Linked DNA regions of Homo sapiens: region 2 is linked to region 1. The links are contacts of gene promoters, found by promoter capture Hi-C in human tissues and cell types (Jung and others, 2019). All regions are on one chromosome and are shown on one strand. Each heading gives the region's core, a stretch centred on a gene start or on the middle of the fragment in contact. The rest is flanking DNA. Distances are from core to core; before and after follow the strand shown. Region 1 holds the start of NUDT8 (nudix hydrolase 8). Region 2 overlaps LOC107984341 (a long non-coding RNA gene).

Evidence for each region. The method cuts DNA at HindIII sites, captures the fragments that hold promoters and counts their contacts. A contact is called where the count stands out against the background at its distance.
Region 2: a contact is called between a fragment that was not itself captured here and the fragment with the promoter of NUDT8 in region 1, in 1 of the 25 tissues and cell types used here (spleen).

Annotation. Positions count from the first base shown.
Region 1 is chr11:67,623,599-67,631,206 of GRCh38, reverse strand. It overlaps NUDT8 (nudix hydrolase 8), which reads left to right and starts at 1,270. Exons shown (of 4, transcript NM_001243750.2): 1 at 1,270-1,489; 2 at 2,156-2,288; 3 at 2,807-2,884; 4 at 2,956-3,269. The coding sequence starts at 1,296. The coding sequence ends at 3,261. LOC124902696 (a long non-coding RNA gene) reads right to left here. Exons shown (of 2, transcript XR_007062741.1): 2 at 3,814-5,153. RefSeq lists silencers at 348-517, 638-1,427, 1,718-1,867, 2,435-2,729 and an enhancer at 5,065-5,594. The HindIII fragment of the contact is 11,433 bases long and covers 1-3,498 here.
Region 2 is chr11:67,109,190-67,116,797 of GRCh38, reverse strand. LOC107984341 (a long non-coding RNA gene) reads left to right here. Exons shown (of 2, transcript NR_160735.1): 2 at 4,143-4,506. Among named protein-coding and RNA genes, the nearest start is that of KDM2A, 6.3 kb to the left of the region's middle. The HindIII fragment of the contact is 5,381 bases long and covers 608-5,988 here.

The DNA.
Region 1 (7,608 bases), core at 21-2,520:
CGAAGCTCTGCCCAGTGCCGTCCGCATCCCTGGGAGCACACAGTAATATTAAAAGTGGTGACTCCAGCCCAGTGGCAGGGCTGCACTTGCCCAGATGAGGATCGAAACTGGCGCTCAGAGAGGCGCGGGACCTGCTCAACGTCACACAGCAGAGCATGGCGGACACCCGCCACCCCACGTTTAAATGCTGTGCGCAAGGCTGGGGTCATCTGGTCCCCAAGCCCAGGGTCTGGTGGAAGGGCGCAGAACCACGGTGGTCAGTGACCACAGGGGCCGAGGTAGGAAAGGGGGAGGGATTTGGGAATCCGGTCAAGACTCAAGGCAGGAAGGGAGAAGAGCTCTGGACGCTGGGACAAGGAGGTCAAAGGCCTGGGGCTGGAGTCCGACGGAGCCAGAGGGGAAGACAAGACTGGGGGCGGCGCGCGCCACCCAGCGGTATCGGGAGGGAGGACCGGAGGGAGGGCTGGGCCGGACGCTCCTCTCGCGCACCGATCGACCTCGGGTTCCTGGAGGGGCGTCCCCGTGGGATCCCGGCTCCGTACATCCTGGAGCCCCTAGGGGAGGGACGGACCAGTGGGGGCCGGCGGGGCCTCATCAGACACCCCAACGCCAGGACCCAACGGGACCGAGGACGGTCGCCGGGCGCTTCACGGTTCGCGTGGTTTCAGGATCTCGGAGAACACAACCGGCAGGTCCTGCAGCTCCGCGCCCATCTCCCTCCCCGCGGCCACACCCCCGGCCACGGCCCGGCCCTGCCGGAAGCACAGTCCTCCTGGCCACGCCCCCCAGTCCTTCGTAGCAAAAGCTCCGGTCCAGGCCCCGCCCCCAGCCCGCCCCAACCTCGATTGCCTACTAGGCCCCGCCGCCCTTTGGCAGTAACGTCCGAGTCCGGCTCCCGCGCAGGCCCCGCCCCGCCCCGCCCCGCCGCCCTCCGTCCCTCCCATCCGGGGGACTCAACGCGTCCCACCGAGGCCCCGCCTTCAAACAGGCCCCGCCCCCTAACGGACCCCGTCCCACCGAGGACCCGCCTTCAAACAGGCCCCGCCCCCGAACAGACCCAGTCCCACCGAGGCCCCGTCTCCGGGAAGGCCCCGCCCACGAACAGACCCACCCCACTGAGGCCCCCCGACGCCGCTGCCGCTCTGCAGCCCCCCAGGCGGGACGCGTCGCGCGGGCTGCCCCTTCTCCCTCTCAGCTTTCGGAGGGACCCGGGCTGAGCGCCCCGCCCCGCCTCGCCCCGCCTCTTCCCTCGCCCGATCCCGCGCCCTCAGTGTCCCGGCCGCGCAGGACTTGACATGCTGCCCGACTGCCTGTCGGCCGAGGGCGAGCTGCGCTGCCGCCGGCTGCTGGCAGGGGCCACGGCCCGGCTCCGCGCGCGGCCCGCGTCGGCCGCGGTGCTCGTGCCGCTCTGCTCAGTGCGTGGGGTCCCGGCGCTGCTGTACACGCTGCGGTCCAGCCGCCTGACCGGGAGGCACAAGGGCGACGTCAGGTACAGCGGCCGGGAACTCCTCGCCCTTTGCCGGAGGCTACAGGAGCCCGGGGCTGGCAGGGACCTCTGGCAGGGCACTTAGCCCCTTCGAGCCTCGGTTTCCGCCTCCGTAAAATGGGTCTGGGGAGAGTCCCTCCGCCCAAGGGCTGCAGCGAGAGGTCAGCGATCCGTGTCCGTCGGCCCCGGTGCACCTGCCGGGGCGCCACGTCCTCGCCGCGTGGGCCCCTCGTACGCGTCCTTGCGCGCACGCCTGGGCCGGGACACCCCTTTGAGCTGTTTCCCGCTTAGAGGGCGGACGCCGCCCCCTGCCGGCGACTACGGAGAGGTTCGGGCCCCGCCCGGCGGGAATTAAGAACATCCTGAGGACAATGTCAGTGTTGCTGGGGCCACCATAGGCCGAATTTGGGTATCTGAGCCCCAGGATCTTCTTGCCCCTGCTGCAGACCCTCTTATCCTGCGCTGTCCCGGGCCTCTCTTCCTTATCCCCATTGCTCAGGGAGGTAAACTGGCCTCCAGAGGTCGCATGGCTTGCCTGGGGCCTCCCAGTAAACTAGGGGCAGAGGCAGGCGACACTTCGGTGGGCCAGTGGCCCCCCCCGCACTGCCGATACCCCGACCTCTCCGTGGCCCCAAGAGTCCAAGGACCAGACTCCTTGTGTCTGTTTAGTTTCCCAGGCGGCAAGTGCGACCCGGCTGACCAAGATGTGGTGCACACGGCCCTGCGGGAAACCCGGGAGGAGCTGGGCCTGGCAGTGCCCGAGGAGCACGTGTGGGGCCTGCTGCGGCCTGTGTATGATCCGGTAAGCCACTTGGCTGAGGCCACCCCACCCCATTCACTCACTCTGTGCCTGCCCTGGAGCTGGGCTACCAGGGACCAGGAGAGTGGTCATGGACCCCCACGGGCACAAAGTGTGGAAGGGTGCCCCTAACCTGCCTGGTCACATGCACCACCCCACACACCCCCTCGGGAAGGGATTGGGGAGGCTCTGGTGTCCTGAGTAGAGGTGGCCCAGGGCGATGGGGTGGGCCAGCTCCACTCAGTTTGGTGGATTAGGGTCAGGGAAGCTTCATGGGGTAGGCAGGGATTGAACCCAGGCTTGAATGCCAAGTGGGAGATTGTCCTAAGCAGAGGGAACAGGTCTAGTGCATTTGAGGGGACCTGAGTCAGTCAGCATGGCTGGAGGACACAGGCAGGTGGACCCGAACATGACTACCAAAGGCCTATGCATGGCAAAGGGGTCTTCCTCTCACACTCCCCTCCCCAGCCTTCAAACCCAGCGAAGGCCATGCTTCCCTGACCACCTGCCCTCTTCCCCAGCAAAAGGCCACCGTGGTGCCAGTGCTTGCTGGTGTAGGCCCACTGGATCCCCAGAGCCTCAGGCCCAACTCGGAGGAGGTGAGCTGGGGGATATGAGGGGGTTGGGCTGTTCCAGTCCTCTGTCTACCCTCTCTGCCTCCTGCCTGCAGGTAGATGAGGTGTTTGCACTGCCGCTGGCCCACCTGCTGCAGACGCAGAATCAGGGCTATACCCACTTCTGCCGGGGTGGCCACTTCCGCTACACACTACCCGTCTTCCTGCATGGACCACACCGGGTCTGGGGCCTCACAGCTGTCATCACTGAGTTTGCCCTGCAGCTGCTGGCACCTGGTACCTACCAGCCCCGCCTGGCCGGCCTGACCTGCTCAGGGGCTGAGGGTCTGGCCCGCCCTAAGCAGCCCCTGGCTTCACCCTGTCAGGCCAGCTCCACTCCAGGACTGAATAAAGGTCTTTGACAGCTCTAGAGCTCTTGCTTCTGCTGTACTGGGGCCTTGACCTTGGGCAGACCACTCCAGGTCGCTGGCTGGGGCTCCTCCTTCCAGTCACGCCATGCCCCACAGCAATGGACACTTCCTGGGTGCCAAGTACTTGGAGTCAATTCATCTCACCCTCACAACAGCCCATAAGGCAGGGCCAACACTGTCTCTGGCTGGTGAGACTGCTTTCAGGGAGGAGAGACACCTTGCCTAAGGGCCCCACGCTGGGATTGGAACCAGAGCTCTCAGACTCCACAGCCCAGACTCTTAGGCACTGCACTGCCCTGTCTCAGCCTGCACCTCCTGTTCTCTCTGCTGTGCCTGGCTGACGCTGTGCTGGGCTCCGGGATCCCAGAGAGGAGTAAGGCGCACCCATGCCCCTGGGTGTTACTGCAGGAGTCTAACATGCAGAGCCCCTGTGTGTGCCAGCTGCTGTGTGGGGGCCACAGCTGTGGACCGGTCAGATGCTCACCTGCCGTCCAGAGGGGGTGCTCAGTCTAGGGGAGACCTCAGACCAGGTCACACAGATAATCATGTGGTTCCACATTAATTAATCACAGATAATAGTGGAATTATATAAGACATCAACTAGGTAGACCAGGGTTCTGTGAAAGAGCTGAGGGAGCGGGTGGTCTGAGCTTGCCGTGGAGGATGGCTGGATCCAGGGGCTCGGGCTCCCCTCTTGCTGTGCTTTGCGCTGTGCTGGCCTCAGCCCCAAGGAGGTTGTCTGTAGTGCAGAGCGTGAGAGGTTGAGGAGAGGGCAGCAGCATCCATCAACAGAAAACACGGCCGCTCCTTCCCGGCCAGTCTAACCTAGAATTGCACTTCACTGGCCTGCCTTGAGTCACATGTCCTTCCCTGAGCCTGTCACATGGCCGGTTGTGTGTCCGGAATTGGTGGGTTCTTGGTCTCACTGACTTCAAGAATGAAGCCATGGACCCTCACAGTGAGTGTTACAGCTCTTAAGGTGGTGCGTCTGGAGTTTGTTTCTTCTGATGTTCGGATGTGTTTGGAGTTTCTTCCTTCTGGTGAGTTCGTGGTCTCGCTGGCTCAGGAGTGAAGCTACAGACCTTTGTGGTGAGTGTTACAGCTCATAAAAGCAGTGTGGACCCAAAGAGTGAGCAGTAGCAAGATGTATTGCAAAGAGCGAAAGAACAAAGCTTCCACAGTGTGGAAGGGGACCTGAGCGGGTTGCCACTGCTGGCTCGGGCAGCCTGCTTTTATTCTCTTATCTGGCCCCACCCACATCCTGCTGATTGGTAGAGCCGAGTGGTTTGACAGGGCACTGATTGGTGCGTTTACAATCCCTGAGCTAGACACAAAGGTTCTCCACATCCCCACCAGGTTAGTTAGATACAGAGTGTTGACACAAAGGTTCTCCAAGGCCCCACCAGAGTAGCTAGATACAGAGTGTCCATTGGTGCATTCACAAACCCTGAGCTAGACACAGGGTGCTGATTGGTGTATTTACAATCCCTGAGCTAGACATAAAGGTTCTCCAAGGACCCATCAGAGTAGCTAGATACAGAGCTGAAGGGCTCCTCAAGTGCTGCCAAAGTGGGAGCCCAGGCAGAGGAGGTGCCGAGAGTGAGCGAGCGAGTGAGGGCTGTGAGGACTGCCAGCATGCTGTCTCCCCTCAATCAACAGGACACCCCAACTGCTGTTGGGAATTTGGCCGATGACTGCTCTAGCTACTTCCTGCTGGATAGGGGCGAAGAAGGGGCTTTGCAGTTGTAGTGTCCTTCAGAGGGGAACTCTCTAGGCCAGGGGAAGTGCCAGCTGGTCAGTCCAGGGGTCCTCGGTAGAAGTTGTTAGTTGAACTCATTTGGGGTTCCATTTGTAAGACCATCTGTAGCTTGATGGCCTCGATTCTAGAGGAAACAAATTTGACAAGAAGGTTAAAAATACAGGGCCCAAAGGCGAGTAACAGCAAGATGGCTGCCACGGGACCTAGAAAGGGGAGAAGCCATGTTGCCCAACTCCAGAGGTTGGTATAAGAATTTGAAAGGCGTCTGATTTCAGAAGCCTTTTCCTGTAAACGCTGGGTGGCATCTCATGCTATCCCTGACTGGTTAGTGTAAAAACAACACTCTTCCCCTAAGAAGGTGCAGAGTCCTCCTTTTTCAGCAGTGAGGAGATCTAGGCCTCAGCGGTTTTGGAGAGTCACTGCTGCCAAAGAGTCTATTTGGGATTGTAAAGTAAGGATAGATTTCATTATTTCTTCCAACTTTGAGAGGCAGATATGGGTTGAAGATCCACATAAGAGAATATGCCTTGGCTGGGTAGAGAGAAATTTACCCTGGCTTTTAAAGGAATAGGTACACTGTTTTTTCTTTACTACTTCCATCTCTCTCTTTGACTTCTTCTTTGTCTCTTCCTCTCTTTTTTACCCTCTCTTTGACTTTCTGTGTCTGTCCCTCTTTCTCTCTAACTTCTTGTCTCTTCCTCTCTGTCTCTTTCTTTGACTTCCTGTCTCTTTCCTTTCTGCTGCCTCTGCCAGCTGCTTATGCTGCTGTTCTCCCCTCTCCTTCCTATTCTGATGGCTTTGTCAGTGTAAGATTCCCACCTCTTTGTGTTTTTGCATTGCGTGCAATAACTCTATAATTTCCTTGTGGTATTTAATGGGGGTTCCTACAGAGGTTAGGAACTCCCTCTCTTTCCATATTGCAGCATGGGCATGTAGGATTAGATAAGCATACTTGCTATCTGTATACACATTTATTCTTTTTCCCTTTCCCAGTTCTAAGGCCCGGGTAAGTGCCACTAGTTCCGCTAACTGGGCACTGGTCCCTGGGGGAAGAGGCTTGCTTTCAAGTATGGTTACATCACTAACCTTCGTATCCCATTCTCCACAAATGAACTTCCATCAGTATATAGGTTAAGGTCAGGATTAGTTAAGGGGACTTCTAAGAGATCATCTCGGGCGGCATAAGTCTGGACTATAATTTGTTGGCAGTCATGCTTGATTGGTTCCCCATCCTCTGGGAGAAAAGTGGCAGGGTTGAGGGCCATGCATGTGCATATTTGAAGCACTGGTCCCTCAAGGAGTAGTGCCTGGTATCTAAGTAGGCAGTTGTCTGATAGCCATAAACTTCCTTTGGCACCTAGTATGCCATTTACATCATAAGTAGTCTAGACAGTGAGATCCTTTCCTTGTATTATTTTGATAGCCTCTGATGCTAAGACGGCCACTGCTGCAACTACCCTTAAACAGTGAGGCCAGCCTTTTGCTACTACATCAATTTCCTTACTTAGGTATGCCACTGGTTGTGGGGTTGTCCCATGAGTTTGAGTGAGGACTCCAAGAGCTATCCCGGCTCTCTCTCTGACATATAAAGAGAAATTCTGTCCTGTGGGAAGGCTTAAAGCTGGAGCTTGTACTAGAGCCTGCTTTAAGGTTTTGAAGGCTGTTTCTGCCTCTGGTTCCCACTCAACTAGATGAGTATTTGCCCTCTGGGTTTCCTTGATTAGAGGGGCCTGGCTGTCTCGCTGTATCCAGGGATCCATAGTCGGCAAAAGCTGGTAATTCCAAGGAACTCCCTCAACTGTTTTAATGTCTTAGGGCGAGGATAAGCCAGTATAGGCTGTATTCACTCCTTGCTGAGGGCCCTGGTCCCTTTGGCTAAGATTAGGCCTAGATATTTAACCTGCTGTAGGCAAAGCTGGGCCTTCGACATAGACACCTTGTACCCTTGATTAGCTAGAAAGTTCAAGAGATCTAGAGTAGCCTGCTGGCACAAGGCTTCCTAACTGGTAGCCAAAAGTAAATCATCCACATATTGAAGGACCAGAGTGCCTGGACTTGAGAAGTGGCCTAGATCTTTGGCTAGGGCCTGACCAAACAGATGAGGGCTATCCCTAAACCCTTGGGGCAAGACCATCCATGTAAGTTGGGATGTGTGGTTTGTGGGATCCTCAAAAGCAAAGAGGAACTGTGAATCAGAGTGCAGGGGAACACAGAAGAAGGCATCCTTGAGGTCCAGAACTGTGAACCATTCTGCTTCCTCTGGTATTTGAGAGAGCAGGGTATAGGGTTTGGGTACAACTGGATATAGTGAAATTACTGCCTCATTAATGAGTCTAAGATCTTGCACTAGTCTCGGTCTTTGTACTTCCAGAATTGGGGTGTTGCAGGGACTGCTGCATTTCCTTACTAAGCCTTGAGCTTTCAAATGTTTAACAATATTCTGTAATCCTTTATGAGCTTCAGGCCTTAAGGGATATTGCCTTTGATAAGGAAAAGTGGTGGGATCTTTTAACCTGATTTGGACTGGGTGGGCATTTTTTGCCCTTCCAAATTGTCCTTCCAATGCCCAGACTTCAGGG
Region 2 (7,608 bases), core at 2,049-4,548, 520 kb after region 1:
TCTTGCCCTTTTTCTTAACATTCAGACCCCCTTAAGTAATTAACCCTCAAGGAGGTGAGTTGCACACCCTTGGCAATCAGATACCTCCAAGTTTAATTCAGATGGGCATGCTGGGAGAACCCTAGAAAGGCTTTAGAACAGGCCGGGCGCGGTGGCTCACGCCTGTAATCCCAGCACTTTGGGAGGCCAAGGCAGGTGGATCACCTGAGGTCAGGCGTTCAAGACCAGCCTGGCCAACATGGCAAAACCCTGTCTCTACTAAAAAAAAAATACAAAATTAGCCGGGCGTGGTGGTGCATGCCTATAATCCCAGTTACATGGGAGGCTGAGGCAGGAGAATCACTTGAATGCAAGAGGTGGAGGTTGCAGTGAGCCGAGATGGCGCCATTGCACTCCAGCTTGGGCTACAGAGTGAGACTCCATCTCCCCGCCCCCCCCCCAAAAAAAGGCTCTAGAACAATAATAGTAGTACTTATTTTGAATGGGACTGCCAGTAGAGCAAGATTTGTCAGATTGCAGCCAGCTCTTTTGCCGTAGGAAACCATTTGTTAACTAGTCTGCGTTGGGGGAACGGGACATTTAAACAGATATACACAATGGTTTCTCCACAGGCAGGCTTTGTTAATAATCCAGAGCAGATATATAGGGTGAGATAAGAGGTAGACAGATGGCTAGTGATTCCTCCCGCCATCACAGTGGCTCTGATTGGCAAGGACAGATCTGTGAGGCTGCATTGCCCTAAAACAGCCATTTGCAGGGAGAATAGAGCTTGGGGGATTCCCCAACTATGAACTCTCTGGCTTCAACCCTGACAATGGTATATGGGAAGAAGGAAATAAAAATGCATTCTAGAGGCATTGAGAACAGGGTCCCTGGCTGGAATAAATTGGCATCTTAATAAGATATTAATAAATCACTGCCTTTTTGAGCAAAGCTAAGACTCAACAAATGCTGAGAGTGAAAATCCAGTCACCATTTTCTTTTCTCTTATTTTCTCTTCTTTTCTTTTTTTGGGATGGAGTTTTGCTCTTGTTGCCCAGGCTGGAGTGCAGTGGCTCAATCTTGGCTCACTGCAACCTTCACCTCCTGGGTTCAAGCAATTCTCCCGCCTCAGCCTCCAAGTAGCTGGGATTACAGGCGTCCGCCACCACGCCCGGCCCACCCATTTCTTTTGGGAGACTTTAGGGTGTGAAAAGAGAACTCTTTAGTCTGGTTAAGCTAAACTATTTCCAATTTCTCCTTAAATGTTAAGGAGGAAGTAAAGATGTCCCAAACAGTGTAGGTCTAAACTAAAATAGAGAAGTTGGTTGTGAAGGTTCCCCAGGAGGTAGCATAATCAGTGGCTAAAAAGCTTTGGCCGGGCGCCATGGCTCACGCCTGTAATCCCAGCACTTTGGGAGGCCGAGGCAGGCGGATCATGAGGTCAGGAGTTTGAGACCAGCCTGGCCAACATAGTGAAACCCCGTCTCTACTACAAATACAAAAAATAGCTGAGCATTGTAGTCCCTGCCTGTAATCCCAGCCACTCAGGAGGCTGAGGCAGGAGAACCGTTTGAACCAGGGAGGCGGAGGTTGCAGGGAGCCGAGATCGCGCCACTGCACTCCAGCCTGGGCAACAGAGGGAGACTCCGTCTCAAAAAAAAACAAACAAAAAAAGAGACTGAGGTGGAGGATTGCTGGAGCCCAGGAGTTGGACTATGAACTATGACTATGCCACTGCACTTCAGCCTGAGTGACAGTGAAACCATGTCTCTAAAAAAAAAAAAAAAAAAAAAAAAGAAGGGAAGGAAGGTTTTAAGTAAAGATGCTTCAATATTTAAGAAACTTGAAGTTTTCATGTGAGTCAAGAGTTTGCATAGACATTAAGTGTGATGACTTATTCCTCGATTCTCTTCCCCCTCCCTTTTTTTTTTTTTTTTTTTTTTGAGACAGTCTCACCGTGTCACCCAGCCTGGAGTGCAATGGCATGATCTTGGCTCGCTGCAACCTCCACCTCCCGGGTACAAGCAATTCTCCTGCCTCAGCTTCCTGAGAAGTTGGGATTACAAGCACCCGCCACCATGCCTGGCTAATTTTTGTGTTTTTAGTAGAGACAGGGTTTCACCATGTTGGCCAGGCTGGTCTCAAACTCCCTGTCTCAGGTGATCCGCCCCCCTCTGCCTCCCAAAGTGCTGGGATAACAGGCATGAGCCACCACACCCGGCCCTCTTCCCTATCCTAACTCCTGGTTTCTCTCCCCGACCCCCGACCCTGGTGTCTCCGCTTTCTATTCTTCCCTCTTCCCTGACTCCAGCTGCCTCTTTCTCCTCATCACCTGCCTCCTGAAGTCTCTTTCTTTCCAGCCTTCTCTCCATCATTTGGCCCACCCCCTCCTCCATGTTCATCTCACTCTCCTGGCCCAGTATCATCTGACTGAATGGCTTTCCCACTTTCCTTTACCATCCATTTGTTGCCCTTAATCACCTCAATCCCGTGCTCTCTGATTTTGTTACTTAACCATTTCCTGAACATCTCCCTCCACCCGCACCCCCCACCCCGGGAAAAAAGAAAAAAAGAAAGAAAACTTCTTCTAGGGTTAAAGGGTGTTGGGGGGTGATTATAAGCTTTAAGTGATAGAAAGTTTTCTTTTTTTTCTTTTTTTGAGTTGGAGTCTCGCTCTGTTGCCCAGGCTAGAGTGCAGTGGCGCGATCTCAGCTCACTGCAAACTCCACCTCCTGGGTTCAAGCGATTCACCTGTCTCAGCCTCCTGAGTAGCTGGAATTACAGGTGCCCGCCACCGTGCCTGGCTAATTTTTGTATTTTTAGTAGAGACGGGGTTTCACCATGTTGGCCAGGCTGGTCTCGAATTCCTGACCTGGTGATCCACCCACCTCCGCCTCCCAAAGTGCTGGGATTACAGCCGTGAGCCACCACGCCCAGCTGAAAGTTTTCTTTCTTTTTTCTTTTCTTTTCTTTTTTTTTTTTTTTTGAGTTTGGAACCTGAATTGATCAGGGGGAAAAAAATGAAGCAGAAATGCCCTGCAGATTCTTGGATCATCAAACATGGGTGTCACATGAGGTTCTTGCATGGAATGTGGCTGACGCTTTCCTTGGGACCATGGGACCACCACCCTCCCTGGCCCCATGCTTCCTTGCTGCCATCTTTTCCAGGTATGTCACCTTCCGCTGTGCAGACCCACTGCTCCTGAGCGCTGGGGTGTACTTTGGCTGTTGGGGCAACTGCAGCAGTGTCTGGGCCCCACCTGCTCTTTAGCAGCCTTAGCTTCGCTTTGGGGCCAGGCCACCCTCATTTCTCACTTCTAAAAGGGTGGGACTTCCTGCTGTGCCCGAGAGTGGAGCTCTAAGATGCAGAGCCTGTGCCTCAGCTACACCTGTGCTTGCTGGGGGAAGTTTCTGGCACCCTGGGGTTTCAGGGTCTGTTTGCAACCTTGCACTAGATTCCCAGCTTGGGTTGGTGGTGACAGTCATACAGGGCTCCAGCCACTTCCCCAAAGGGCCAAATGCTTAAGCACTTAGACCTGTTTAGCCCCTCCCAATGAGTCTGATCTTTTTTTATCTTCTTCAAGGGCATTCGCTACCTTTCATCAGTTTCTGCTAAAGCTGGTGTTCCTTCAGCCACTTTGTGAGAGGTTCTGAACCCGTCAGAACTTCAGTTCTCTTTAATAAAACAGAGTAGGCTGGGCGCGGTGGCTTAAGCCTGTAATCCCAGCACTTTGGGAGACCAAGGCGGGCAGATCACCTGAGGTCAGGAGTTCAAGACCAGCCTGGGCAACATTGTGAAACCCTATCTCTACTAAAAATACAAAAATTAGCTGGGCGCGGTGGCACATGCCTGTATTCCCAGCTACTCGGGAGGCTGAGGTAGGAGAATCACTTAAGCCTGGGAGGCAGGCGGAGGTTGCAGTGAGCCCGAGATCGTGCCACTGCACTCTAGCCTGGGCAACAGAGCAAGACTCTGTCTCAAAAAAATATATATTATATATAATATATGTATATAAATATATATAATATATATAAAACATAATACATGTATATAAATATATATAATATATATAAAACATATATTTAAAACATATATATTTTATATATATAATGTATATAAATAAAACAGAAGTAGTGACTCCTGCCCTGTTTCCTCCTAGGATTGTTGTGGAGTGAAATGGACTAATGGACATGAATACCCTTTGGAAACTAGAAGACAACTTATTTTAGAAAGGATTTCTGAGGTCTTGCACAGTGCCTCATGCCTGTAATCCCAGCACTTTGGGAGGCCAAGGTGGGCAGATCACCTGAGGTTGGGAGTTCGAGACCAGCCTGACCAACATGGAGAAACCCCATGTCTACTAAAAATACAAAATTAGCTGGGCATGGTGGCACATGCCTGTAATCACAGCTACTTGGGAGGCTGAGACAGGAGAATCACTTGAACCCGGGAGGCAGAGGTTGCAGTGACCCGAAATCGCGCTTTTGCACTCCAGCCTGGACAACAAGAGTGAAACTCCATCTCAAAAAAAAAAAGAAAAAAAAAGGATTTCTGGTTTTCCTATTTTTAAAAAATTTTTTACTTGGTAATTTTTTTTTTCATAGAAACAGGGTCTCACTATGTTCCCCAGGCTGGTCTCGAACTCCTGGCCTCATGTGATACTCCTGCCTTGACCTCCCAAAGTGCCTGGGATTACAGGCATGAGCCACTGCACCTGGCCAGTTCTCCTATTTTAAATTTATTTTTATTTTATTGTGGTAAGAACACTTGATGTGAGATTTACCATTTTAACAAAGTTTTAAGTGTACAATGCATTGTCCAGTTTCTTTTTCTCCTACATGTAGGATTTGGGTACTTACTGAGTACACTGTGCCCAATGCTAAATTAAGTGCTTGGATAGAGAAAGGAGATTTGAAAAGTTAGAAGGCTTGACTTTTACCTTCGAAAACTTCATATCGAAGAAAGGACACCATGAAGATGTGACATACTCAGAGAACAATCATCATTCCAATGAATTGCTGGAAGATCATTTAGACCATAAGAACTGGTCTTCAAATTGCACTTGGATATAAGCCCCGTGGGGCAGGAAGTTTTGTTCATTGCTGGATTCCCCAATGCCTAGAACAGTGCCAGGCATAGTTGGCACTCATTCCTTCATATTTATTGAATCAGCCAATAAAGTAGTGCAGTGTTGCTTTTGAGGGAAGGAATATGAAGGCTGGAGAGCATTGAATCCTTGCAGAGAAGCTTGGTTTTGTGAGAGCAAGAGAGGCACATATGTTCTGGAGCAGAGAAGGTTGATGTAATAGTAATTGTTGCAGAGAAACTGTTCCTGCAGCTGTCATTGCAGCTGGAATAGAAGTGATAGAAACCAAATCCTGTACTACTGCAAACCAAGCCAGGAGGTATGTGAATCTTGGGCCAAGTTCTTCACTGTCTTTTTATTCCAGCTCCTCTTGTGATCTTGTCTTTCTGCTCCACTTACCTCTACTGTCTCCAGTTTAGGATGTTGACTTTAGAGTCCACGTCACAGTGCAACTTTTTTTATTTTGTTTTGTTTTTAGACAGGGTCTTGCTCTGGCACCCAGGCTAGAGTGCAGTGGTGCACTCTCAGCTCACTGCAGTCTCCACCTCCCAGGCTCAGGTGATCAGTCTTCCCACCTCAGCCTCCTGAATAGCTGGGACTACAGGCACATGCCACCACACCTGGCTAATTTTTGTATTTGGATTTTTAGTAGAGATGGGTTTTTGCCCTGTTGCCCTGGCTGGTCTCCAAATCCTGGTCTCAAGCTATTGGCCTGCCTCCCAAAGTGCTAGGATTACAGGCATGAGCCACTGCACGTGGCCACAAGATTTTTTTTTTTTGAGACGTAGTATCGCTCCATTGCTTGGACTGCAGTGCACTAGCGTGATCTCGGCTCACCACAGCCTCCACTTCCCAGATTCAAGCGATTCTCCTGCCTCAGCCTCCCGAGTAGCTGGGATTACAGGCGCCCACCACCATGCTCAGCTAATTTTTTGTATTTTTAGTAGAGACGTGGTTTCTCCATGTTGGTCAGGCTGGTCTCGAACTCCTGACCTCCTGCCTCAGCCTGCCAAAATCCTGGGATTACAGGCATGAGCCACCACACCTGGACTTCTTTTTTTTTGAGATGGTGTCTTGCTCTGTTGCCCAGGCTGGAGTGCAGTGGCATGATCCCGGCTCACTGCAACCTCCGCCTCCCAGGTTCAAGAGATTCTCCTGCCTCAGCCTCCCAAGTAGCTGGGACTGCAGGCACTTACCACCATGCCTGGCTCATTTTTGTATTTTCAGTAGAGACAGGGTTTCACCATGTTGGCCAGGCTGGTATCAAACTCCTGACCTCAGATGATCTGCCTGCCTCGGCCTCCCAAAGTGCTAGGATTACAGGAGTGAGCCACTGCTCCCGCTCGTTTTTGGTGTTTTTTTTTGAGACAAGGTCTTGCTCTGTTGCCCAGACTGGAGTACAGTGGAGTAATCTCGGCTCACTGTAATCTCTGCCTCCTGGGTTCAAGCGATTCTCCTGCCTCAGCCTCCCAAGTAGCAGGGATTACAGTTGCACACCACCGCACCCGGCTAATTTTTGTATTTTTAGTAGAAACAGGGTTTTACCATGTTGGCCAGGCTGGTCTCAAACTCCTGACCTCAAGTGTTCTGCCCACCTTGGCCTCCGAAAGTGCTGGGATTACAGGCATGAGCCACCGCGCCCAGACAGGAGTGCAGCTTTTGATGTGATATTATAAGCTTAATATCTCCAATCAATTATTTTTCATTATATCTCTTTAATTATAATGTACATTATATTTAAACAGTGTAACTTTAAAATGACAATATTGTTTTTTCCCCCAAAAAATGCTTGCTAAATATTTAAACTCTGAAAATGTATTTGGTCTTTACCTTCTTTCTGGCTAAATCTATTTTCACACTCTCTGGGGGACTGCAAGAAAATATTGACTGAGTTTAAGGTAAGATTTTCATGGTTTTTTTTTTTTTTGCAATTATACTTGATTTGCCACAGCTTAGAGTTCATGTTCGATTTGGTCATAATTTCTAGATCTACTTTTACTGTTGATCAAATAATCTTCCTATTGGTGAGCTTCATATCATTAACTTTCTATTCCTGCATAATGTTATTGGTGGAAGAAATGTGGGAGACCCTACATCTATACCTCATTCCTTTATTACTGGAGCTGATGACAGGATTTACCCATCTGTCTATTTATTTCATTTTTTTAAATTTTATTTTTTTATTATTATAATTCTTATTTTTTGGGATGGAGTCTCACTCTATCACCCAGGCTGGAGTGCGGAAGTGCAATCTCAGCTCACTGCAGCCTCTGCTTCCTGGGGCTTCCTGGGGGTTCACGAGGTTCTCCTGCCTCGGCCTCCTGAGTAGCTGGGTTTATAGGCGTGCGCCACCACACCTGGCTAATTTTTGTATTTTCAGTAGAGACAGGATTTCACCATGTTGGCCAGGATGGTCTCAATCTCTTAACCTCAAGTGATCCGCCCACCTTGGCCACCCAAAGGGCTGGGACTACAGGCGTGAGCCACTGCGCCCGGCCCCCTAGCTAATTTTTAAATTTTTTGTAGAGATGGGGGTCCC